Regions from separate parts of the Homo sapiens genome. Here all the other regions are linked to region 3. Evidence: promoter capture Hi-C in 16 types of primary human blood cells and fetal thymus (Javierre and others, 2016). All regions are on one chromosome and are shown on one strand. Each heading gives the region's core, a stretch centred on a gene start or on the middle of the fragment in contact. The rest is flanking DNA. Distances are from core to core; before and after follow the strand shown.

Region 1 (3,064 bases), core at 300-2,799, 820 kb before region 3:
GTCATCAGTGAACAGAGCTGTTTCCCCTCCTCTACCAAGTCCTCTTGGGGCCTTAGGTGTGGGATGAGAGAAGGATAGCCACATAGCAGGAGTCAGCATATTGGGAGGAGGAGTTCTCTTTTCCTGCAACTTAATTGTGACCTCAGGATTCTCCGTGTTTGTGTGTGTGTGTGTGTGTGTATACACATGTGTATGTATCCATTGATAATGGAATGCTTCCTGATATTGTGGCTAGGTGGATCAGATAACTCTAGTTGATAATGGACCACTCAGGTAACATGGTTCTTTGGTGTCCTGTGGTCAGGGATAGCTCACCTGGTGAATGAATTAGAGTGGCCTGCACAGTTACATACATATCACCTCCAAATTCCGAAGAGGTCTACCAAAGCTGTGCCTCTTTCTTATGGATGAGTGGCATAAGGTAGACCAACTTGTCCTTTACTTGTGTCTTGAACTCCCAGAAACTGCTCTGAAGTGATATACCCACATATATATATGTATGTTTATTTCTGATATGCTCATACTTATTAAGGCATCTGGTATACCTGCCACTCCTAATTTTGTAGGTCCTATTGGCATGCTCTGTTCATGATTTTTCTTACGGTTATTTGGCTGTTTTAGGGTCTTTAGGTCTGTGAACTGACTCAGGTCTGGAAATTGGGTAAATGATCATGGTGGCTTAAGTTAAGCCTTGTTCACTAAAACTAGATTATTTGCCAGTTATATAATGACAATAAAAATAACCGTAGTGGAAATGATAGCTAGCATATATTGAGCACTTAATCTGTGCCAAACACTGCTTTAAGAGCTTTATATTAGCCTATGTAATTCTCACAGCAGCCCTATGAGCAGATAGAATCGTATCGCTATTTTACAGTGAGGAAATGGAGACACAGAGAGGTTCAACTTGAGTATCTGTCTGTCTAAGGTCTATGGACCTCATGATCAGTTGCCCTTCTCCAAACATCCCAGTGAATCAGAGCATCTGACCGCCAGGAAGGCCATGTGGCTTACTGTGGTCATCATGCACACGTCACCTTGGGGTTAAGTGGCATTATTTAGTCTATTACTTAAGGGGTTTGGTGTCCGCATTGAAATAAAGAATTTCGTTGTCTCTTAACAGCATCCTCAGCCCACAGAGAATGGCCTTGGCAACACATTTCTGAGACGCTTGTGCTCCCCTCACTAATGTATTTATTTCTCAAATTCTCAGTGAAGGGAGTGTCTTCTGAGCTCTCTTGGGGGCATAATTAGGGAGTGGGCTAGCAGGTCACACATGATAAATCCACTCAGACATTCTTATCTCCTGAAATCATTTTATTACTTCCTCTCTTGACTTCCCAAAGAATTTCTGGCATCTCAGCCCCATACATATGGGCAGCTGTGGTGTCTGGGTTTCCAAACTCATACAGTCAGCTCCACTCCCAGCTGCTGCAGCTGGCATGTGGAATCCTGACTTGCTGGTAAGTGTGCTCATATTGATCATTCCACCCCATCTATTTAGTCTTCTTCCCTCCATCTAGATTCCTTAGAATCCCACATATATAGGTCAGAGTTTTGCTAATGTAAAGTAGAAAAACCTTGTGGTTCTTTTGGAGTGAAAGCCTTGTAATAGGCCCCTTGGGGCATGCTGGGGCTCATTTCTAGACAGTGAGGCGTGATGAGCAGGAGAGATGAAGAAAATCTGCTTCTCTTGCAAAGTAATTCCTTCATGAGACTTCATTAAAAGGGTCTTCAGGTAAGGCCAGATCAGCCTCATCTGAAAGCCTTACACAGGGAGAAAGGGGCTGTCGCTGCTGACAAGTGATGTTCCCTGAGGTTTGGGGACTTGGGCTTTTCTTAATCACCTTAAATCTCTGTTTTAGTTTTTAGGAGTTTCACTCTTTGTAGATTGGTAGCCCAGTCTATAGATACCTTGCAAGGGTGAGAATTCAGCTGACATTGTAATTTAATAAAGCTAAGGATAAAACTTCTGGGGTTTTTTGTTTATTGAGCCCGCTGACTAGAAGAGATAAGAGATGGTTTTTAGCAGAGGCCAAGAAGGTCCCTGGGTTTCAGTCCATACCCTAAGCTGAGAATTTAGGAATTGGAGCCTGTCATTCTCCTCTTACTCTCATTCTTTACGCTCTGCTTGGCAGCCTACACCATATTTCTTGGAATTAAAGACATCATGCCCTTAGTAGTTGTAAGTTGGGTTCCCCAGGGAGGCTAGTTTGTAGGTGTTTATTAGGGTGTTCTCTTGAGATTAATTCCTGTAGGAGGAAAGGGGTGGAAGGAGGGCCTGACAGAGGGAGGAGCCAACTGTGACGCAGTCTTCATGGAAGCTCCAGTCGATTCTGTAGGGAGTTCTGCAGGTTGGGTAATTCTTTGGAGTGGTCCCAAGCAGAGTGAGGAGGCTAAGCCTTTCTACCCCCATGGCAATCAGTCCTTGGATGTAGCCCACCCCAGAAAGGCTTGGGTGAGGTAGCTTTCCTGAGTGGACGCAATCCCCAGTGGAGGTAATCCCCAGCTGAGAGTTTCTGCTGGTCACTTCCCATCAGCTGGGACAGTGAGTCCTTCATTGCCTAAGGAAATCTGGGCAGTGCATCCTAGTATTCCCCATAATAGTGTTTTGTGGAATTGTCTACTCGGTCACCCAGTCTTGGCTTCAGTGGTTGCTTCTTTCCAGGTGACTCCAGACAGTAATTTGATGAACAATTTCAACACTGTGTACCTGGAGCTTCCAGACTCTCACTGTTGATTAGTAGCTGGATTTTCACTGCCTTGAGCTCCAAAGCATCAAGACAGCCAAATCTAGGTTCCCTAGTTTTTCCTGAGTGTCTGATGCTGACGGGTACTGAGTATCAGTTTCTTGAACCTATCAGTTTCTTCTTTGGAAGTAGGAGAAACCAACTTTGGATGATTTATGCAGAAAATAAGATTCATTAAAAGGAAAATGAGTAGCTCATAGAATCACAGGGCTCTGAACTCAGAGGACTGAATCCAGGCTATGCAGCCAGGACTCAAACCCCACAATATGCCACAGTTTGTGAGGATGCCACCCCCTCCTAGTGTAACTTGAACT
Region 2 (2,948 bases), core at 207-2,706, 840 kb before region 3:
ACTGTTATGCTCTGCTGCCTACTAAGCAAGAGACTTGTTCCACATACTGTCTGCCATGTTTCAAAAAACAACTTAGGGTGAAATGACATGCCCACACATCATTTTCCCTTGCTCTCAGCCCATCTTTTTCTCTTTCTCTTCTACCAGTCCTGTGTCTCTTGTTGACTGGGACCTGCTTTTGCCAGCCTCAGACATGAGTAGGTGATGGAGGAATTCAGGCAGGGTGGCACCTGTAGCCCGAAACTCCAAATTCCCAGTGGGGAAAATACACTGAGTGCTGCCCTCCCCGCTTGGGTTTTTCCAGGGCTGATGCTGGAGTGGAGGGATCAGTGCAGAACGTGTCTTTGGCTCTTGGCACTAGGCTAGCTTGTTGACCCCCAACCCCCATTCTTATTTTGAGACAAATGTTCAAGCTGAAATACGATTCTTCCAACCAAGAACATTGAGTGTTCCCAAGACAAACCAAACCAACCCTCTGTCAGCTGGCATAGCAATAATATTTGTGGGAAGTTTATGAAAAATCTTATCTAAGGGACTGTTTTAGGAATCAAGGCACCATCGAATGACCTCTTTTGTTTCCACTTTAGATGCAGCAGCAGGAGCATGACTCCCTGAAGGCCAGCCTGTGTGTCCTGGCCCTGGGGCTGGGCCGCCTTCTTTGCTGGTGGTGGCTGGCCGAGCTGATGGCTCACCTGATGTACATGCATGCCATCTACAGCAGCATCCCCCTCCTGGAGACTGTCTCTTGTTGGACCTTAGGTAATTGTGGGAATCACCAACAGTGGGATGAGCCCCAATAGTCCAACAGTTAGCATCAGAATGGAGCTGGAGTGGGGGGTGAGCAGGGGTGCAGGTGCCTATAGCAAACCCTCTTTATTATTATTTTTTAACCTACTCCTCTTGTGGCCAAGATTGTGCATGTGAGAAGTGGTTGATGTAGCTGACGGAAGTGAGGGCTGTGCTTGTAGTCTGGGGACCAAGAATGGTGGCATTCTTCTCTGTAATGGGATCCTACTGACCTTAGCTGGGTCCACATCTTCACAGCGTAGCCAATATTGTGTTTAGCAGTAGAAGGCAGGAGTTGCTGGGGGCAGCTTTGAGTTCATTCTAAGAGAGAATGCTCCAAGATTGAGTTGTTCCACAGTCTTCCTTGTTCTTTGTGCATAAGGTATTAAAGAATATGAGGCTGGGTGTGGTGGCTCATGCCTGTAATCCAAGCACTTTGGGAGGCTGAAGCGGGCAGATCACTTGAGGTCAGGAGTTTGAGACCAGCCTGGCCAAGAAGGTGAAATCATGTCTCTACTAAAAATACAAAAATTAGCTGGGTGTGGTGAGAGACACCTGTAATCCCAGCTACTCGAGAGGCTGAGGCAGGAGAATCACTTGAATCTGGGAGGCGGAGGTTGCAGTAAGCCAAGATCATGCCACCACACTCCAGCCTGGGTGACAAAGCATGACTCTGTCTCAAAAAAAGAATGAGTTTCAGGATCACACAGCCATAGGTTTGAGTTTCAGCTTCACCAATGACTGGTGTGTAACCTTGGCAGTTTACTTAACCTCTCGGTTCCAGCACCCTCATCTGTAAAATAGGGAGACTTAGCTTTGTGGAATAATAGGAGGATATTAGGCAGCGCTGCACATTGAGGGTGTACCTTGTACACTGTCTTGGGATAGAATAAATGGCGTGTGTGTATTTCCCTCTGTAGATCCCCTTTCCTTATCTACCCTTTCCTGTGTGTCTGCCAGGGAGGTGGCATGGAAGTCTTACTTCCTCAGCAGGGCTAGTCTCCAGTATAGGATTTGTCTGTGGAGAAACCACTGTTCTTTTATTCCTCTGGCCAAAACAGCAGAGCCCACGCCCTTTTCTGAATAAAATCTCTTCACTTCCTTGTTCTCTCTCCTTTTGAGGACTCCCGCAGTGGCTGACTTCTGCCTGTGCTCTGACCTCCAGCCTGTAGCTCCAATAACTGTGTGATCCTCCAGGCAGATCAAGCTGTTCCCTGCTGAGGGCAAGAGTACAAGCCTGACTCCTTCTTTATCTGTTTAACATTTCATAGATCTTCTTAAACAAATCTTGATTGTTCTTGGTATCACACGTACTTAATCAGAATGTTTCCAAGGACGAAACCTTTAAGATTGAAAAAATGCTAAGCTAGTTTAATGATAGTCTCTTTCTTCCAAACAAAACTTTTTATAGTTTGGAGTTGCTAATATTGTAAAGTTTTAATGATACAATTAGACAAACAGAATATGATTAAATGATAGCTTATACTAAGTCAGATCCCAGTTGTATGGGATACAAACTAAGGGACTGTTTCAGCTTGAGGGTTTTTAAACTAAAAGTAATGGAAGACACAACTCAAAATGGGGCTTAAACAATAAGGAAGTTATTCCATATAACAATGATACTTAAGATCGGCACTAGGGGTAGTAAATTATGTGACTCTGATGTCACCAACACACCTTTTGTGTGTCCACCATTCAGCTTAAGAACTAACCAGAATCGTAGAAGCCCTTAGTTTGTACTCGTAATCCCATCAGCCTCTATTACCCTCTCTGAAAAGATTACCTGAATATTGTATTTATCCTTTTCTTCTTTTTCTTTGTACTTTTACCACAGTTAAATCCTTAAAATTGCATATGTTAACACCTCGTCGTATGAATAGATTCATGCTTGTTATGTATGTTCTGTGACTTGGTTTTCTTGTTTAACATTATGTTTTTGAGAAGCATTCATGTTAAGACATGTAACTAGGTAGCACTTATTTTCACTGCTGTATGGCATTCCAGTGTATCCATATACAAGAAGTTATTTGTCCGTTCTACATATACGAGGACACTTGAGTTTTTTACAGGGTTTTGCTATTCCATATAATGCCATTTCTGTGTCTCTTGGAGCTCATGTGTAAGGGTTTCCCTGTAGGGCCATAACTTTCAAACTCTTTGGC
Region 3 (2,929 bases), core at 6-2,505:
TTACAAGACAGTATTTTCAAGTGTTTGGAGAGTATCTGCTGAACCCCAATACCGCTCAGCATACATCTGCATACTAGAGGCTCACAGTTAAATCCTCACTTATTTCTACTTATTCGTCAGTGGGGGGGAAGAAATCAGAAAAAGAGGAAAAGAAAATCATAAACAGCCCCCAATGCCAGGCAGCCTGGCACGCAGCAGATGCCCTCAAATCTGGTGAAGGAATAAACGCAGTTTCCTACTCCTTTCGCCGAATGCAATTCAGAAAAGCATTACAGAGCACAACTCCTTCCAGGCTGGAAACGCTGCCAGAAAGCAGCTCTCGCTTCACCTCTGCCGGGGGACTCCGCCCTCTCCCCCAGCGCTCCAAGCGGAGACCGCAGGTCAGCAAGAACTGAAAACGCGTCTACTGGGCCAGGTCTCATGTTTATCTTATTTCCCCCTCACTCCACAGCACTCACTCCCCAGCTATTAAAACAGAGAAGAAAAAAAAGGAAAGAAAGATGGTAAGAATAAGACAGTAGGGTTAGGATCGGGGAGAGGGGCTTCAGCAAAAAACAGTTGCATCGCTCAGCCCCGGAAACTCATCCCGTCATCCCCAGACTCTCTCTCGGGAACTGGGCCCTACTTCAGAGATCCAGAAACAAAAATTGTAGCGTCGAGATGGTTAGGGCCGAGTCTACTTCTTTCGCCGGTTGGGCCTCAGAGCCCCAAGGCCGCCCTGCTATACTGCGCGACTGCACCGCGGGCCAGAGCGCGCCCCTAGCTCGAGGCTGCCAGCGGACACCGGGAAACTGAGCGGCCTGCGGGTCCAGACATCTGAGGAACGCCGCGCTCAGGCCCGTGCCTGCAGCCCGGTCCGCAGAGGGGGGGGGCCGCTCCCCCCGGTCGCCCAGTCGGGTCGCGCCGGTCCTTTCTCAGGGTGACCGCGTTCCTTCCGCCCAGAGAGGGCAAAGAGTCCCGCTCCCTCGTGTGCATCTCCCGCCCGCGCTCCGGAGCGCCCCCTAGGAAGAAAGCCCGAGCGGCGGCCACGCCTCGGTGGCGATTTTATTAGCGCTTGGTTGGGGTGGCCCGGCTGCCTGCGAGCGGGGTTTCCCCGCCCCTCCCCCCTTCCCCTCCCCCCAGGCGGCCGGAACCTCCCTGCGGAGCGGAGTGATACCGGCGGCGGCGTAGAGCGCGGTGCGGCCGAGGGGCGCCCGGGACTGCGCGGGGCGGGCGGCGGCGGAGGGAGGAGGGGAGAGAGGCGGGGCCGGGGCGGGTTGTTGTGAGGCGACTGCGCTACTGCCGGAGCGGGGCGGTTATGGCGGCTCCATATTAACAGCCTCCTCCTCCTCCGCCGCCGCCGCCGTCTCCTCCTCCTCCTCCTTTCCCTCCCGCCCGCGCTCTAAGCCATCTCCGCCTTCACCCTGACGCCTGCCTCTTCCCCTCACCTTTCCCCCTCCCCTGTTCTACCATGCCCGGCATGATGGAGAAAGGGCCCGAGTTACTGGGGAAGAACCGATCGGCCAACGGCAGCGCCAAGAGCCCGGCAGGCGGCGGCGGCAGCGGCGCCTCGTCCACCAACGGCGGGCTGCACTACTCAGAGCCCGAGAGCGGCTGCAGCAGCGACGACGAGCACGGTGGTAGCCTCGAACTCCTCCCCGCCAGCCCGCCTGCCCCCCTCCCTCTTCCCCTCCCCCAGCCCCCTCCCCTCGCCGCTCTCCCGCCCTCCCTCCCCTCAGAGCCTGGGCGCTGCGGTAGCCTCGAACTCCCGGTGCAGTGCAGCAGCACCCCCGCGACCCCCCGTCCCTCCGCCCTCGACCAATCCTCCGCCTTTGCCCCCCCCCGCTCCCCGCCCCCAATCCGCTGCCATCTCCCGGAGTGCCCCGAGTTGATATCTTCCCATCCACCCGCCGCTTCTTTCCTCCATCTAGCGATTTTTATTTTTTAAGTGTCTCTTCCTTTTTCTTTCTTTTCTTCTTTTTTATTTTTTATATATATTTTTTGGCATTGCTTTGCAGATGTTGGGATGAGAGTCGGAGCCGAATACCAAGCTCGGATCCCTGAATTTGATCCAGGTAGATATATTTGCTTAAGCAAAATCTCATATCCCCTTTCCTGGGCTTGGTTTGGGGTGGACGGGCTAGGAGTCCGGGCATGGGGCCGGGAGGGGATGCGGGGTTGGGCTGGGCAGGCATCCGTGGCGGGGAGGCTGTCAGGCTTGGCCGGGCTGTGACACTGGGCGTGTGGGCAGATGTGTGCACTGCAAGGTTAACATGGTTCCCTTCGGAGGCCACTTGCCCGCTGGGGGCATCGCCTTCCTAGCCCTTGAGCCTGGGGCAGGGTCGGGGTGAGCAGAGGGAGACGGCCCTTGGCGGAGTCCAGGGTCCGAGGCCGCGGGCTGGAGGAGCAGGCGTGCGGACTGTATGGACGAACCGTGCAAATGTCAATTGCCACCTCGCTCGCCCCGGCGCCGAGGGCCGCGCTCTGTCGGGCGGGTGGCAGAGGCCAGGGCGGCTGTCACCGGCCGGGGAAGCCAAGGGCGAGCCCTGCCGACCTGTGCGCAGCCGGGATTGTCTCTTTTCTTTCTTTTTGGCTAGGTGGTGTAGCTTTGGTCGCGGCAGCTCTGCGGAGTGCAGGAGCCGCGGAGAGAAAGGGGTGGGGGAAGGGGGTGGGGAGACGCCAGCGGCAGGCACACCTCGCTCGCCAGCCAGCTCTGGGAAGTTAGACCACAGGACAGTGGCTGCAGCTGCCAAGGAGACATTTTCTCCCCGACCAGCCAGGTTCCAGCGTCCTCTGCCAACCCAGCTTGCGGGCTCCCTGTCTACTTTTCTCCAAACAGGCTCCCCGGCGGTCACGAGATTTCAGCCTGTGCAGGGATTGGGCGAGAGTTCCGCATATGGAGGCGCCCTTGCTGGAGCCTCTCGGAGTGGAGCGCGTTTCCTTCTCCCCA
Region 4 (3,044 bases), core at 400-2,899, 910 kb before region 3:
CCTCATCACATTTGTCATCTATAAAATGCCTACCTCCCCTGTTCCACTTCCACCTACTTCACCAGGCTGTTGTGAAAACAAAATGAGATAATGTGTGAATTCTGGGGTTTGGCATGACTGTCACATGTTAGAAGTACTTGGTGGGGTTGGTGGGAGGTGCTGCTTAAAATTTTGCTCTTATTTTGGCATCCACAATGAGACATACTTGAGAGGTTTAAATAAAGCAGTAAAGGCCATAAATGCGTTTAAATTTAGTGAACTCTTTGTTACTTGGAACATTTGGAATCATTTAATTTGCTGAATTTTAGGACCTAACTTTCCTATACCTTCTCTATTACTTAGAGTATAGTCATGGCTGCCATGATGGAGAGATCTAGAATAGGAGAGGCTTAAACAACCTAGAAATGCATTTCTCTTTCCTGTAACAGTCTAGATCTAAGTAGTCTGGGGCACTTTGGGGCTTGGGGGTGGTACCTGGATTTGGGGACTGAGAGGCCTCTGTCTTGTCCATGTGGCTTTCACCTCTTCATCCACGGAGGCTGTTCCAATTCTGTTCAACAGGAAAGGGAGGGAAAGAAAGAGATGGCCACAGCCATGTCCCTTCACTCACACCCTTTTGAATGGAGCTATTCAGGTGTCCACACTTAGCTACAGTGTAGTGTTGGTGTCCAGAGGAAATTTTAATTGATGTGTAAGAAGAGAGACTGAATTCTGAAAAGGGGTAGTGAGGGGCGGTGGGTAACAAGCAGTGTCTGTCACAGATGTCTGTGATTATGTCATTAACTGCCCTTTAAGAAATGTACAGATGAGGCCTGGCACAGTGGCTTGTGCCTATAAACCCAGCTACTCAGGAGGCTGAGGTGGGAGGATCACTTGAGGCCAGGAAATCAAGATCAGCCTGGGAAACATAGACCCTGTCTCCAAAAATACATAAATAAAGTGCATAGATGCATGGCAGACAGCTGATTTTAAGTTTTTATTTTATTATTGCTTTTAGAGAGGGGATCTGGCTATGTTGCCCAGGCTGGTCTCGAACTCCTGGCCTCAAGTGATCCTCCCATCTTGGCCTCCCAAAGTGTTAGGATTACAGGCATGAGCCACCATGCCTGGCCTATAGTATGATACTTGAAAGGGACAACAAGGATGGTGAACCTGTTGATTTAGAGGTTTGTATACTGTTTGTGCTTTTCAGACTTTTTGAAGCCATTTATTATTCACAGAGCACCTGGTAGTCCCTTCTTGCTACATCCCAGGCACTGTGCTAGGGGCTGGTGAGTCAGAGATCATGGTCCCTGCTATCTGAGGGTCCACTCCACAGAAGAGACAGGCATATTATGCAATGGGTAGAGAACTGTCTGATGTATACTCTGATGGGAGACTGTGGGAACTCCTAGGAAAAGACCTGACCCCTTTGACAGGCAGGATGCACATGTGTGGTGTATGTGTGCGTGTGTGTGTGTGTGTGTGTGTGTGTTGGATGCAGGATGGAGTAAGTTCACAGGGAGGAGGAAGCTTGATTGGGGTTATGTCTGTATCACCTTGAATAGTGATGGGTCTCCGGGAGTGTGAACTAACTGAATTGATGTTTAGATGCTGTTCTCTAGTGTCATGTTCATGGCTTAAAGTTTTGTCTCTGTTTCTCAGAAACTCTCAGCGTAGGCATCGGGAACCTTCGTGCCAAGGAGCCATGCTGCCCCGATGGGAACTGGCACTTTACCTACTTGCCTCACTAGGCTTCCACTTCTATTCCTTCTATGAAGTTTACAAAGTCTCCAGAGGTAAGGCCCCAAGCTTTTCAGACCTCCTATCAAACAAGGAAACTCCTGTCAAAAAAAGGAGCAGAGGTGGAAGATTCAAGAAGATGATCCAATAGTGTCAAGATGATGTGGGCCTTGATTTGCTTCCCCATGTCTTGGATAGTTTGAATCAGTGACCTGAGTCCATTGAGTTTTCTACCCTAAACCTAGGTCTTTTAGGTGATGCTGTGGCTTGTCTTCTATAATTGGTGGGTTTGATTCAAAAGCTATTGAAGGCCGTGGAGGGGATTTGCGTTCAGAATTCAAAGTAAACTCTTAAATTTCTCTTTCATCATTACTCCTCTGAGACATATTAGATCTGGGTTCGTTTTGTCTTCTTCTGTCATTTTTAGTGTTGCCTTTGTCTGAGTGTTGGAGATAAATCATCATCAGGTCACATTCCAGCCCAAAGGAAGGGGAATGGGGGCCCTCCTTTATTTTAGCGGCAGTTTGGCAAGGAGCACTAGTCACTCCTGCTCACACCCAACTGGCCAGCACTGAGTCCCACGGGCACAGCTGGGAGGCTGGGAAATAGTCTTTAGGTTGGTGGCTATGTGCTACCTAAAACTTTTTTTTTTTTTTTTTGAGACCTAGTTTCGCTCTTGTCGCCCAGGCTAGAGCAATGGTACCATCTCGGCTCACTGCAACCTCTGCCTTCTGGATTCAAGCAATTGTCCTACCTCAGCCTCCTGAGTAGCTGAGATTTCAGGTGCCCACCACCACGCCTGGCTAATTTTTGTATTTTTAGTAGAGACGTGGTTTCACCATGTTGGCCAGGCTGATCTCAAACTCCTGACCTCAGGTGATCCTCCTGCCTCAGCCTCCCAAAGTGCTGGGATTACAGGCGTGAGCCACTGCACCCTGTAGCTGGGACTACAGGAGTGCACCACCATGCCTGGCTTTAAAACTACTTTTAAAAAATAAAGTATATTGAAAATGGGAGGTGTCTATTCTTACACCAATACCATAATGTCTTGATTACCGTAGCTTTACATTAAGTCTTGAAGTTGGATAGAAGTCTTCTAACTGTTATTTGTGTTGTCTATTCTGGGTCTTTTGCCTGTCTGTATAAACTTTAGAGTCAATTTGTTGATATCTACAAAATAACTTTAGCCATAAAATAAAGATGTTTATAGCAGCTTTATTCATAATTGCTAAAAATTGGAAGCAATCAAGATGTCCTTAAGCAGCAAATGGACTAATAAACTGTGGTACATTCGGACAATGGAATTTGCCAGGATTTTCATT
Region 5 (2,881 bases), core at 214-2,713, 930 kb before region 3:
TTCTGCTATTAAAGGATTCAGATGCATTCTTCAGCATATCAATTGTATTTTTCAGCTCCAGAATTTCGGGCTTAATTCTTTTCAATTATTTCATTTGCTTCATTAAATTTACCTGGTAGGATTCTGAATTCCATCTCATGTTTTCTTGAATTTCATTGAGTTTCTTCAAAAGAGCTATTTTGAATTCTCTGTCTGAAAGGTCACTCTGGGATTGATGCCTTATTTAGTTTGTTTGGTGATGTCATGTTTTCCTGGATGGTCTTGATGCTTGTGAATGTGTGTCAGTGTCTGGGCATTGAAGAGTTAGGTACTTATTGTAGTCTTCACAGGGTGGGCTTGTTTGTATTCATCCTTCTTGGGAAGGCTTTCCAGGTATTCTAAGGGACTTGGGTGTTGTCATTTAGGTTTGGGTCACTGCCATCATATCTGCATTAGAGGGCACCTCAAGCTCAGGAATGCTACGGCTCTTGCAGACTCAGAGGTACCACCTTAGTGGTCTTGCATAAGATCTGAGAGAATCTTTCCCCAGCTGCTGCTGTAGGATGAGGGAGGGGTAGCGTCTGCAATTCAAGACTGTCTTCTCTACGCTTTTCAGTGCCTCTTTCAGTGATATGAAGTTAAAACTTGGTACTGCAATGGCCCACTTGATCTTTGGTTCTTATTAAGGTGTTTTTTGTTGATAGTTGTTCATTTTGTTGTTCTTGAAGGGAGGACAATTGGTGGAAGCTTCTATTTGGCATCTTGCCCCACCTCCCTTAGATTTTGATAAATTTTAAGTTTTCATACTGCCAAATTGCTTACCCAACTAAACATTGTGTGTGAGTGCTATCACATAGCACCCATGCCAGGCTGTAATGTTATTTATTAATTTTTTGCCAACTTAATGTGTGAAAATTGTGTGTTCTTGTTTTTTTTTTTTTTTTTTTTTTTTTTGAGACGGGGTCTTGCTCAGTCACCCAGGCTGGAGTGCAGTGGCACGATCTCGGCTCACTGCAACCTCTGCCTCCCGGGTTCACGCCATTCTCCTGCCTCAGCCTCCCGAGTAGCTGGGACTACAGACACCCGCCACGATGCCTGGCTAATTTTGTTTTTGTATTTTTAGTAGAGACGGGGTTTCACCACGTTAGCCAGGATGGTCTTGATCTCCTGACTTCGTGATCCACCCACCTTGGCCTCCCAAAGTGCTGGGATTACAGGCGTGAGCCACCATGTTCTTGTTTTACTATGCATTTCATTGAGCTTTTTGCAATATATTTTTGTTTCCTACTTTTATTTCCCTCCTCCTTTTTCTAGTGGGTTGTCTATAAATGTGTCTTGCTCATCTATAATTGATTTCTAATGTTTTCTTATTGATTGTATTAACTCTATATATAATTTTAAAATTAACACTTTGCAAATTTCTTGCAAATATCCCAGTCTATTGCTTATCTTTAAATTTTGGCTATTATGGCCAAGCATGGTGGCTCACACCTGTAATCCCAGCACTTTGGGAGGCTGAGGCAGGTGCATCACTTGAGGCCAGGAGTTCGAGACCAGCCTGGCCAACAAGGCAAAACCCTGTCTCTACTAAATAGCCAGGTGTGGTGGCTGGTGCTTGCCTGTAATCCCAGCCACTCAGGTGGCTAAGGCACAAGAATTGCTTGAATCTGCAGTGAGCTGAGATCATGCCACTGTGCTTAGCCTGGGTGACACAGTGAGACTGTCTCTAATACATACATATATATATATATATATATATATATATATATACACACACACATAAATTTTGGCTATTTTTATTTGATGTTTCTGATTGCCTGTGTTTAAATCTGCCTTTATCTCCTTTGTGTTCGCCGGTGAATTTAAAGTGCATATGTAGACAGGGGTTAAGTGTAAATCACACTGAACCTATATTAACAACAGCATCTTTTAGAAATAATATAGGAGCTGTTATCACATCCCTGTCCCTGAGTTTGACACTACCTGAGTTGAGTTCTTATTCTGCCACTCCCTCTGCCAAACCCTTGGATCTAGAGTTGACAGATAAAATACCCAGTTAAGTTTGATTTTCAGATACCCAGGATGTAAATTTGAATTTCAGATATACCATTTTTTTTTTTTTTTTTTGGTAGAGATGGAGTTTCATCATGTTGGCCAGGCTGGTCTCGAACTCCTGGATTCAAGTTATCTACTCACCTCGACCTCCCAAAGTGCTGGGATTACAAGCTTCCTGTAAGTACTTAAAAAAAATAAGTATATCCCAAATATTGCATGGGTCATAGTGATACTAAAAAGTTACATATTGTTCACCTGAAATTATTTACTTATTTTTTTGAGACAGAGTCCGGCTCAGTCACCCAGGTTGGAGTGCAGTGGTGCGATCTGAGCTCACTGCAACCTCTGCCGCCCGGGTTCAAGCGATTCTCGTGCCTCAGCCTCCCAAGTGGCTGGGATTACAGGTGCAGGCCACCACACCCGGCTAATTTTTGTATTTTTAGTAGAGACGGGGTCTCACCATGTTGGCCAGGCTGGTCTCAAACTCCTGGCCTCAAGTGATCCTCCTGCTACCGCTCCTAAAGTGCTGAGATTACAGGCGTGGGCCACCGCGCCCAGCCTGAAATTCAATTTTAATTGAGTATGCTGTATTTTTATTTGCTAAATCTGGCACTCCTATTTGGGGCTAGTTTACTAACACCTGCTTACTGAACACCATCCAGTACCAGGTTTTGGGGTGAGTGGGTTGGGGGGAAGCAGAAAGAAAAGATAGCTCCAGCTCTTGGAGAGTTCATACTCTGGTTTCCTGGAGAATTCTAAAATCATTAAAATAATCCTCTCGACCATTACAATGACTGCTAGATGAAATTTCTGAGAGCACAGCTTCCGAGTTTCCCTGCTGCCTAGG
Region 6 (3,154 bases), core at 255-2,754, 890 kb before region 3:
CCTCTGTCTGACTATCCATTCATCTACCAGTGCTCTGAGCACCTCTCATCTTCTCATCTCTCTACTTCTCATCACCTTGCATGTGGGGTGGGTGGTTTGGAGCCCTAGAATTTACGGAGGAAATGGGTCCTGGTGAATATCCGGCAGAGGAAGGACATTGATATGGGTCCTTAGGATCAAGATACTCCTTGCTGAATATTTCTTTTCTCAGAGGCTGTAGGAAGTGGCAAGCACATGCTATTTTGGTCCAAATTCTAATCAAAAGAAGATATTAGATGTGACTAGAAATCATGACCTTTAGAAGAAAGCTTAGTTTTCTGACCAGCCCATCCCTTGAATGTTAGTCTGCAGCTGGGTTGGTAAACCTCAGTACTGCTGACAGTTTTTTTTTTTTTTTTTTTTTTTTTGAGACGGAGTCTCCCTCTGTTGCCCAGGCTGGAGTGCAGTGGTGTGATCTTGGCTCACTGCAACCTCTGCCTCCTGGGTTCCAGTGATTCTCCCACATCAGCTTCCTGAGTAGCTAGGATTACAGGCACCTGCAACCACATCCAGCTAATTTTTTTTATTTTTAGTAGAGATGGGGTTTCGCCATATTAGCCATGCTGGTCTCAAACTCCCAACCTCAGGTGATCCACCTGCATTGGCCTCCCAAAATACTGGGATTACAGGTGTGGGCCACCATGCCTGGCTGACATTTTATTTTGTTGAGATAGGGTCTCGCTCTGTAACCCAGGCTGGAGTGCAGTGGCACAATCTTGGCTCACTGCAACCTCCATCTCTCAGGTTCAAACAATTCTCTTGCCTCAGTCTCTTGAGTAGCTGGGATTATAGGCACACACCACCACGCCTGGCCAATTTTTGTATTTTTAATAGAGATGGGGTTTCACCACGTTGGCTAGGCTGGTCTCAAACTCCTGACCTCAAGTGATCCACCTGCCTCAGCCTCTCAAAGTGCTGGCATTAGAATCATGAGCCACCATGCCTGGCCACATTTTATTAAAAAAAATTTTTTTTTTTGAAGAGATGTGATCCTGCTCTGTCACCCAGGCTGGAGTACAGTGGTTGTAATCATAGCTCACTGGAGACTTGAACTCCTAGGCTCAAACGATCCTTCTGCCTCAGCCTCTTGAGTAGCTGGGACTACAGACATGCACCACCATACCTGGCTGATTTTTAATATTTTGTAGAGATGGGGTCTCACTATATTACCCAGGCTGGTCTTGAACTCCTAGCCTCAGCCTTCCAAAGCACTGGGGTTACAGGTGTGAGCTATGCTGCCTGGCCACTACTGACATTCTAGATTAGATGGCTGTTGTGGTGAGCTGCTCTGGACGTTGTACAATGCTTATCAGAGTCCCTGGACTCTACCTAGTAGATGCTAGCAGCATTTCCTGCCCTAAGCCTTAACAATTTTAAAAAGTGGGCTGGGTGTGGTGGCTCACTCCTGTAATCCCAGCACTTGGGAAGGCTAAGACCAGCGATCATTGAGGTCAGGAGTAGCCTGGCCAACATGATGAAACTCCATGTCTACTAAAAATACAAAAATTACAGCCAGGTGTGTGCCTGTAATCCCAGCTACTCCAGGGACTGAGACACAAGAATTGCTTGAACCCGGGAGGTGGAGGTTGTAGTGAGCAGAGATCGTGCCACTGCACTCTGCACTCCAGCCTGGGTGTCAGAGTGAGACCTTGTCTCTAAAAATAAAATCAAAAACAAGAAACAATTTAAAAAGTCTCCATGCATTGCCAAATGCCCCCAGGAGGCAAAAATCATCCCCTTTTAAGAGCAGCTGGTCTATAGCAATATTTAAGGGCTCTTAAATGACCACTCCCTTGGTCATGCCGATTTGCCATTCTTACCTTTACTCATCCTGTTCCTCTTCTGGATTGGGGCTCACGCCTTCCCTGTCCGGCCCTTACTCAGACTTCAGATCATAGCTGGCTCCCTGTCACGAAGCATTGCCTGAAGCTCAAGCTGAGCTTGGTGCTCATAGTTCCTGACACTTCCCTGCCTCTCTCTTTACTTCCTTCCACAAATACAGCTTTCAATGAGAGTGTCTCTGTGCTCAAGTCCATATGGAGCGCTGGGGACAGTGGTGAGCCAGACAGACAACATTCCTATGCTAGTTTCTCCTACTAGGGACAGGCTGACCGCAAACAAATGAACAATGGCCACAGATTGAGCTAAATGACATGAAGGCAGTAAACAGGGTGATAGGATAGCACTCTTTTGGGTGAAATCGTGTACCCTATTATGACAAATTTATTTGTAGAATTTTATTTGATGTTGTCCTTTCTGACTTAGATTGTGGGTCCCACAAAAGCAGGGCTGGGATTTAATCATTTCTGTATCTTCAATGCCTGGAGCAGAGTCAGTGAGTATTTTATTGAATTTAACTGCAGGAAAGAGTGAAGGGCCAGGTTGCAGCATGGAGGTGAGAAATACATTGGTCCTACGTGCCTCTAGATAGCCATGTAGGTAAGTGGGCTAAGTGGGACAGTGTGTAGAGTCAGAGTAGGGAGACACCATTCTGGGCACAAAAAATCACAAACTGCTTCTGGGAGAAGGGGGCTGACCTTCACCTGAGCTCCAGAGAATGAGTAGGATTTGGCAAGATCATCAGTAGAGGAGATGCTGTTCCAGTGGTGTTGCTATGGTTAGAAAAGGGAAGAATGTATTAGGGAAATGGTGAGTCAAAGTGAAGCTTCACTTAGGGCAGTGAAAGGGAGCTGGACCTGACTGTAGTCCTCCAGTTTTTGATGATGTTCAGGTTTGGAGGATTACAGCCCCAATCAAGAATGCTTTTGATCTTTGTCATTTCTTTGAGGGTAATGCTGATTGCACTTGCCAAGACAACAGAAGTGGTGTGGGTGCTTGCGTAGGTGCGGCTGTCAAGGGCTGTTCAGACTCCATATGCTTTGGTTTTTGCATCCTTTTTTTGTAATGTTTGCTCTTCCAGGCTGTCAGGGTAAAAGCCCCTCCCCCACCCCCCACCCCCTGCAGGCTCCAGTGTGCTGTGCTAGAATGGGGTGAACCCAGCCTTGCTGGGTTCTGGGGTGATCTGTCGTTGTATTTGCCAGTCCCTTTTTCTTTCTTCTTGCTGGTCTTCTCTCTAGTGATGCCAGGGAGATAGGGGAAATATTTCAGTGCCCAC
Region 7 (3,208 bases), core at 439-2,938, 860 kb before region 3:
CCAGTTAATTTTTGTATTTTTAGTAGAGATGGGGTTTCACCATGTTGGCCGGGCTGGCCTCAAACTCCTGGCTTCATGTGATCTGCCCACCTTGGCCTCCCCAAAGTGCTGGGATTACAGGTATAAGCCATTGTGCCCGGCCAGGAACATATTTATTATCTACTCATGTGACCCAGTGGAAGCTCTTTCAATTTAGGTAGTGAAAACAAAGTGTTTAGCCCCGAAGGGCACAGACCAAGCTTTCATTTCTGTAAACCCAGAGGCATTTTGACAGACTCAACCACCTATCCATTGTTGGTGCTAATAGAGGAGGACACTGGGCTCAAACCTCACTTCTTTAGGGCTTTTGTTTGCATTAGTAAAATCTTATTTTATAGGCACTTACCTTTTAGCTTTATTTTTTTTCTCAGTCACAATAACAGTGCATTTTTACTTTATGAGTGCACATCAGACTTGACCCAGAGAATTGGTGGATGACAGACAGACTGCCTTCTGAGTTGAGTTTCCTGTGCCTTGCTGAGGCGATTGCACCTATCAGCAAATTCTTCTTGTACTACATTTTCTGATTTCTGTTGTGTGTTCTCTGATCATCTCCTGGGCAGTGGCTAGCATCCCCTGGACGGCTCTGGACTATCTGTTTCTGTCTTTGGTAACTGGAGTGACCTAGCCCTGCTTATGCAATTGAAGCTTAGGCCCCTCAGCCTATCTCAGGCCCACTCAGGCTGTGTGAGGTTCCTTCTCTCACTTGTCTGTTGAATACACCCTTTACATGTTCAAGTTGGAGCTGCCAAGGTCTGTGGCTGCAGGGGAGTAAAGGCAGAGTCTGTGTGGAACTCTCAACCATCCAGAAGTGGGAGCTTTCTTTTAAGGAGAAATGCATGGCAAGAACACAAGTCCAAGGCCCCAGCTCCAGGGTCTGGTTCTGGGCACTCAGCTTCAGAGCCCTTCACTTTTGGGGCCAGTTGACTCTGAGAACAGCCAGCCTGAGAGTTGCGCAGCTTGGAAAACATCAGGGGTCATATGCCCAGGGCAGGACCATTGATGTTTCCCACCTTCATCGACCTTCTCCTTCCTAGCCCGGTTCCCAAACACTGCCCAACTGGCAGGAGCTGTTTTTTTGAGTCAGGCCAATCTGCTTACCTTTCCCTTTACACATTTACGTATGTTTATGCTGTCTCTTGGAACCAACCTTCTCATCATCCCTGTCCACCGGATTCTCTTTCAAAGTACAGCTTAGACCTCAGTCTCTAAAGGTAAGAAATAAAAGAGGGCCACAGAAAAACAGATCAGTTAGTGTCCGATACTGCTCTGAGAGCTGCTGGCTCTTACAAACTGGTAAACAATAAAACAGTAGCATGTAAGTGACCAGGTGTCACCTAGAGCTTTGGGGACACTGCACACACCTATCCCTTCCTCTAACCCCCTAGGATCTCCATAGGCACATTCAAAATCTTGGGCAGTGTTGGGTATTCTTTCTTCAATCACTGTGGGACTGGAACTCCTGTGGTATCTTTTTATTCATTCATTCAGTCACTCATTCATTGATCCAGGTGACAACACTTAGCATTCATGTGCCCTGCATCAACACAGTGATGGGAAGGAACATGATGGGAAATGTGAGATGGATGACCTGGTTCCTAGTCTATTCTATTCCCCATCTCTTCCTACTCTGAAGCTGGAGCAGTCATTTAACCTCTGAGCCTCAATCTCATCATTTGGAAAACAGAAGTAATAAATCCTCTTCCTTCCTCATGGGATTGTTCTGAGAGTCAAACGGGATAATCTATGTTAAGTGATTTTGTGAAAATTGTAGCATTTTGAAAGTTCAAGTATTTTTTGCTGTTTTTAGTCTACCTTCATTTTTCTCACTCTCATTAATGATGTGGGGCTAGCATTTTAAGCACGTATGTCAAAATCTGGACTTATGAGAGTATATCAGATAATCACTCCGTTTTAATGAAGATACTTCCCAGAATGATTAGGCAACCATTTAGGCAAGTGTGCTTAAAAACAGATTTACAGTAAAAATAAAAACAAGCTCATACCTAACCTTTTGGGGACCTGGCAAGTGTACAAACAGAATCTAATTCCATTTATCATTTATTTGGGGACAATTAGCATCAGTTATAGATGTTGGAGGTGAATAAATGTTCATTTGTTCTGCAAATTTTACAGTGATTTGAAAAACACTGAGGAAGGAGATCATGTGATTAGAAACTAGCTGGGTTTCCATGCTTTTGCACATGTGGTTCTCCTGATATGATTATCCTCTTTTCCCTTGGTGGCTGCTAAAGTCTTGTACAAGAAGTAGAAACTCTGTTCAGTGGTTGGTTTTTCTGTGTACAGCTTTAAGAGACCCTGATGGATCAAGTTAATTACTTTCTCCTTTGACCCAAGTTCTATTTCTCGTATGTATTTCCATAAATAGTTTTTCTCACTAAATGTATTTTTGGAAAACATGGAAAATGTAGAAAAATATAGAAATTAGAAAATACTTCATAATTTTACTCCCCGATATTAACATTTTATTGTATTTCCTTCTCATTTTTTGTTCCATGCATATTTTTGCACAGGTTATTTCTTGTTTCATGCTCTATTGTAATTGCATTTTTACACATCTACGTCCTGTATGAGAATTTAACATATTGAGGGCAGGGACTTTTTTTTTTTTTTTTTAAATATTTGTCTGTAAAGCTTATTAGACAAATGCTACTCAACTAAATGTAGAGCCAAACTGATAACAAAAGAGGAAAACGAAAAATACATTGAAGACAGAAATCCCATGGGACATTTTAAGCCCCTCTTTGTTATCTGAATTGTTGAAGAAGCTGTCAAAGTATCCACTGGATGTAGCTAATCTGCACCTTATGCCCTGGATGTATCTGATACATGCCTAACTGGGAAAACCTTCGTTATGTTGTGTCAGACCTAATGCTAGGTTAACATTAGAGATGTCCTTTTTCCTACTGCTCATTAACTGCTTGCTTTGATTACCAATGAGATTTACCTGGTGTTCATTGGTTCTCGACTGCCTTTTATGGCACAGCTGCTCTGCCTGAAGAAGAAATTGCCTTCCCAGAGCCCCCTGGGATTCTCAGATGACGGTGGCCCTGCTGGCCAGCACCTGCAGTGGGACTGGACGATGTCCCTGCTGGCCACTCAAAGGTTGTTCTCTCCTTTTGATTTTGTAGAGAAGGTGGTACAAGAC

Evidence for each region. Contacts are between HindIII fragments. The CHiCAGO score rates a contact against its expected background, and 5 or more counts as called.
Region 1: a fragment that was not itself captured here is called in contact with the fragment with the promoter of RCOR3 in region 3 in 2 of 17 cell types (M1 macrophages and M2 macrophages); the score reaches 7.4 in M1 macrophages.
Region 2: a fragment that was not itself captured here is called in contact with the fragment with the promoter of RCOR3 in region 3 in 1 of 17 cell types (M0 macrophages); the score reaches 5.1 in M0 macrophages.
Region 4: a contact is called between a fragment that was not itself captured here and the fragment with the promoter of RCOR3 in region 3, in 1 of 17 cell types (M1 macrophages). The highest score is 6.6, in M1 macrophages.
Region 5: a contact is called between a fragment that was not itself captured here and the fragment with the promoter of RCOR3 in region 3, in 2 of 17 cell types (M2 macrophages and M0 macrophages). The highest score is 5.6, in M2 macrophages.
Region 6: a contact is called between a fragment that was not itself captured here and the fragment with the promoter of RCOR3 in region 3, in 2 of 17 cell types (M2 macrophages and M0 macrophages). The highest score is 6.4, in M2 macrophages.
Region 7: a fragment that was not itself captured here is called in contact with the fragment with the promoter of RCOR3 in region 3 in 1 of 17 cell types (M0 macrophages); the score reaches 6.1 in M0 macrophages.

Annotation. Positions count from the first base shown.
Region 1 is chr1:210,438,016-210,441,079 of GRCh38, forward strand. The region is part of intron 7 of HHAT (hedgehog acyltransferase); the gene reads left to right. Among named protein-coding and RNA genes, the nearest start is that of HHAT, 110 kb to the left of the region's middle. The HindIII fragment of the contact is 3,981 bases long and covers 1-3,064 here.
Region 2 is chr1:210,417,567-210,420,514 of GRCh38, forward strand. HHAT (hedgehog acyltransferase) reads left to right here. Exons shown (of 12, transcript NM_018194.6): 7 at 588-759. Among named protein-coding and RNA genes, the nearest start is that of HHAT, 90 kb to the left of the region's middle. The HindIII fragment of the contact is 6,070 bases long and covers 1-2,948 here.
Region 3 is chr1:211,258,111-211,261,039 of GRCh38, forward strand. It overlaps RCOR3 (REST corepressor 3), which reads left to right and starts at 1,256. Exons shown (of 12, transcript NM_001136223.3): 1 at 1,256-1,616; 2 at 1,998-2,054. The coding sequence starts at 1,451. LOC105372902 (a long non-coding RNA gene) reads right to left here and starts at 1,082. Exons shown (of 2, transcript XR_922552.3): 1 at 626-1,082; 2 at 1-465. RefSeq lists enhancers at 75-194, 469-970, 1,473-1,972 and silencers at 675-1,464, 1,535-1,834. The HindIII fragment of the contact is 7,419 bases long and covers 1-2,929 here.
Region 4 is chr1:210,347,289-210,350,332 of GRCh38, forward strand. It overlaps HHAT (hedgehog acyltransferase), which reads left to right. Exons shown (of 12, transcript NM_018194.6): 2 at 1,645-1,778. The coding sequence starts at 1,688. Among named protein-coding and RNA genes, the nearest start is that of HHAT, 20 kb to the left of the region's middle. The HindIII fragment of the contact is 279 bases long and covers 1,511-1,789 here.
Region 5 is chr1:210,325,211-210,328,091 of GRCh38, forward strand. It overlaps a transcript of HHAT not described here. Among named protein-coding and RNA genes, the nearest start is that of HHAT, 2.3 kb to the right of the region's middle. RefSeq lists an enhancer at 2,865-2,881. The HindIII fragment of the contact is 1,479 bases long and covers 725-2,203 here.
Region 6 is chr1:210,364,928-210,368,081 of GRCh38, forward strand. The region is part of intron 3 of HHAT (hedgehog acyltransferase); the gene reads left to right. It overlaps LOC124904503 (a long non-coding RNA gene), which reads right to left and starts at 2,019. Exons shown (of 2, transcript XR_007066866.1): 1 at 1,860-2,019; 2 at 1-254. The HindIII fragment of the contact is 2,396 bases long and covers 307-2,702 here.
Region 7 is chr1:210,401,273-210,404,480 of GRCh38, forward strand. HHAT (hedgehog acyltransferase) reads left to right here. Exons shown (of 12, transcript NM_018194.6): 6 at 3,192-3,208. Among named protein-coding and RNA genes, the nearest start is that of HHAT, 74 kb to the left of the region's middle. The HindIII fragment of the contact is 2,007 bases long and covers 686-2,692 here.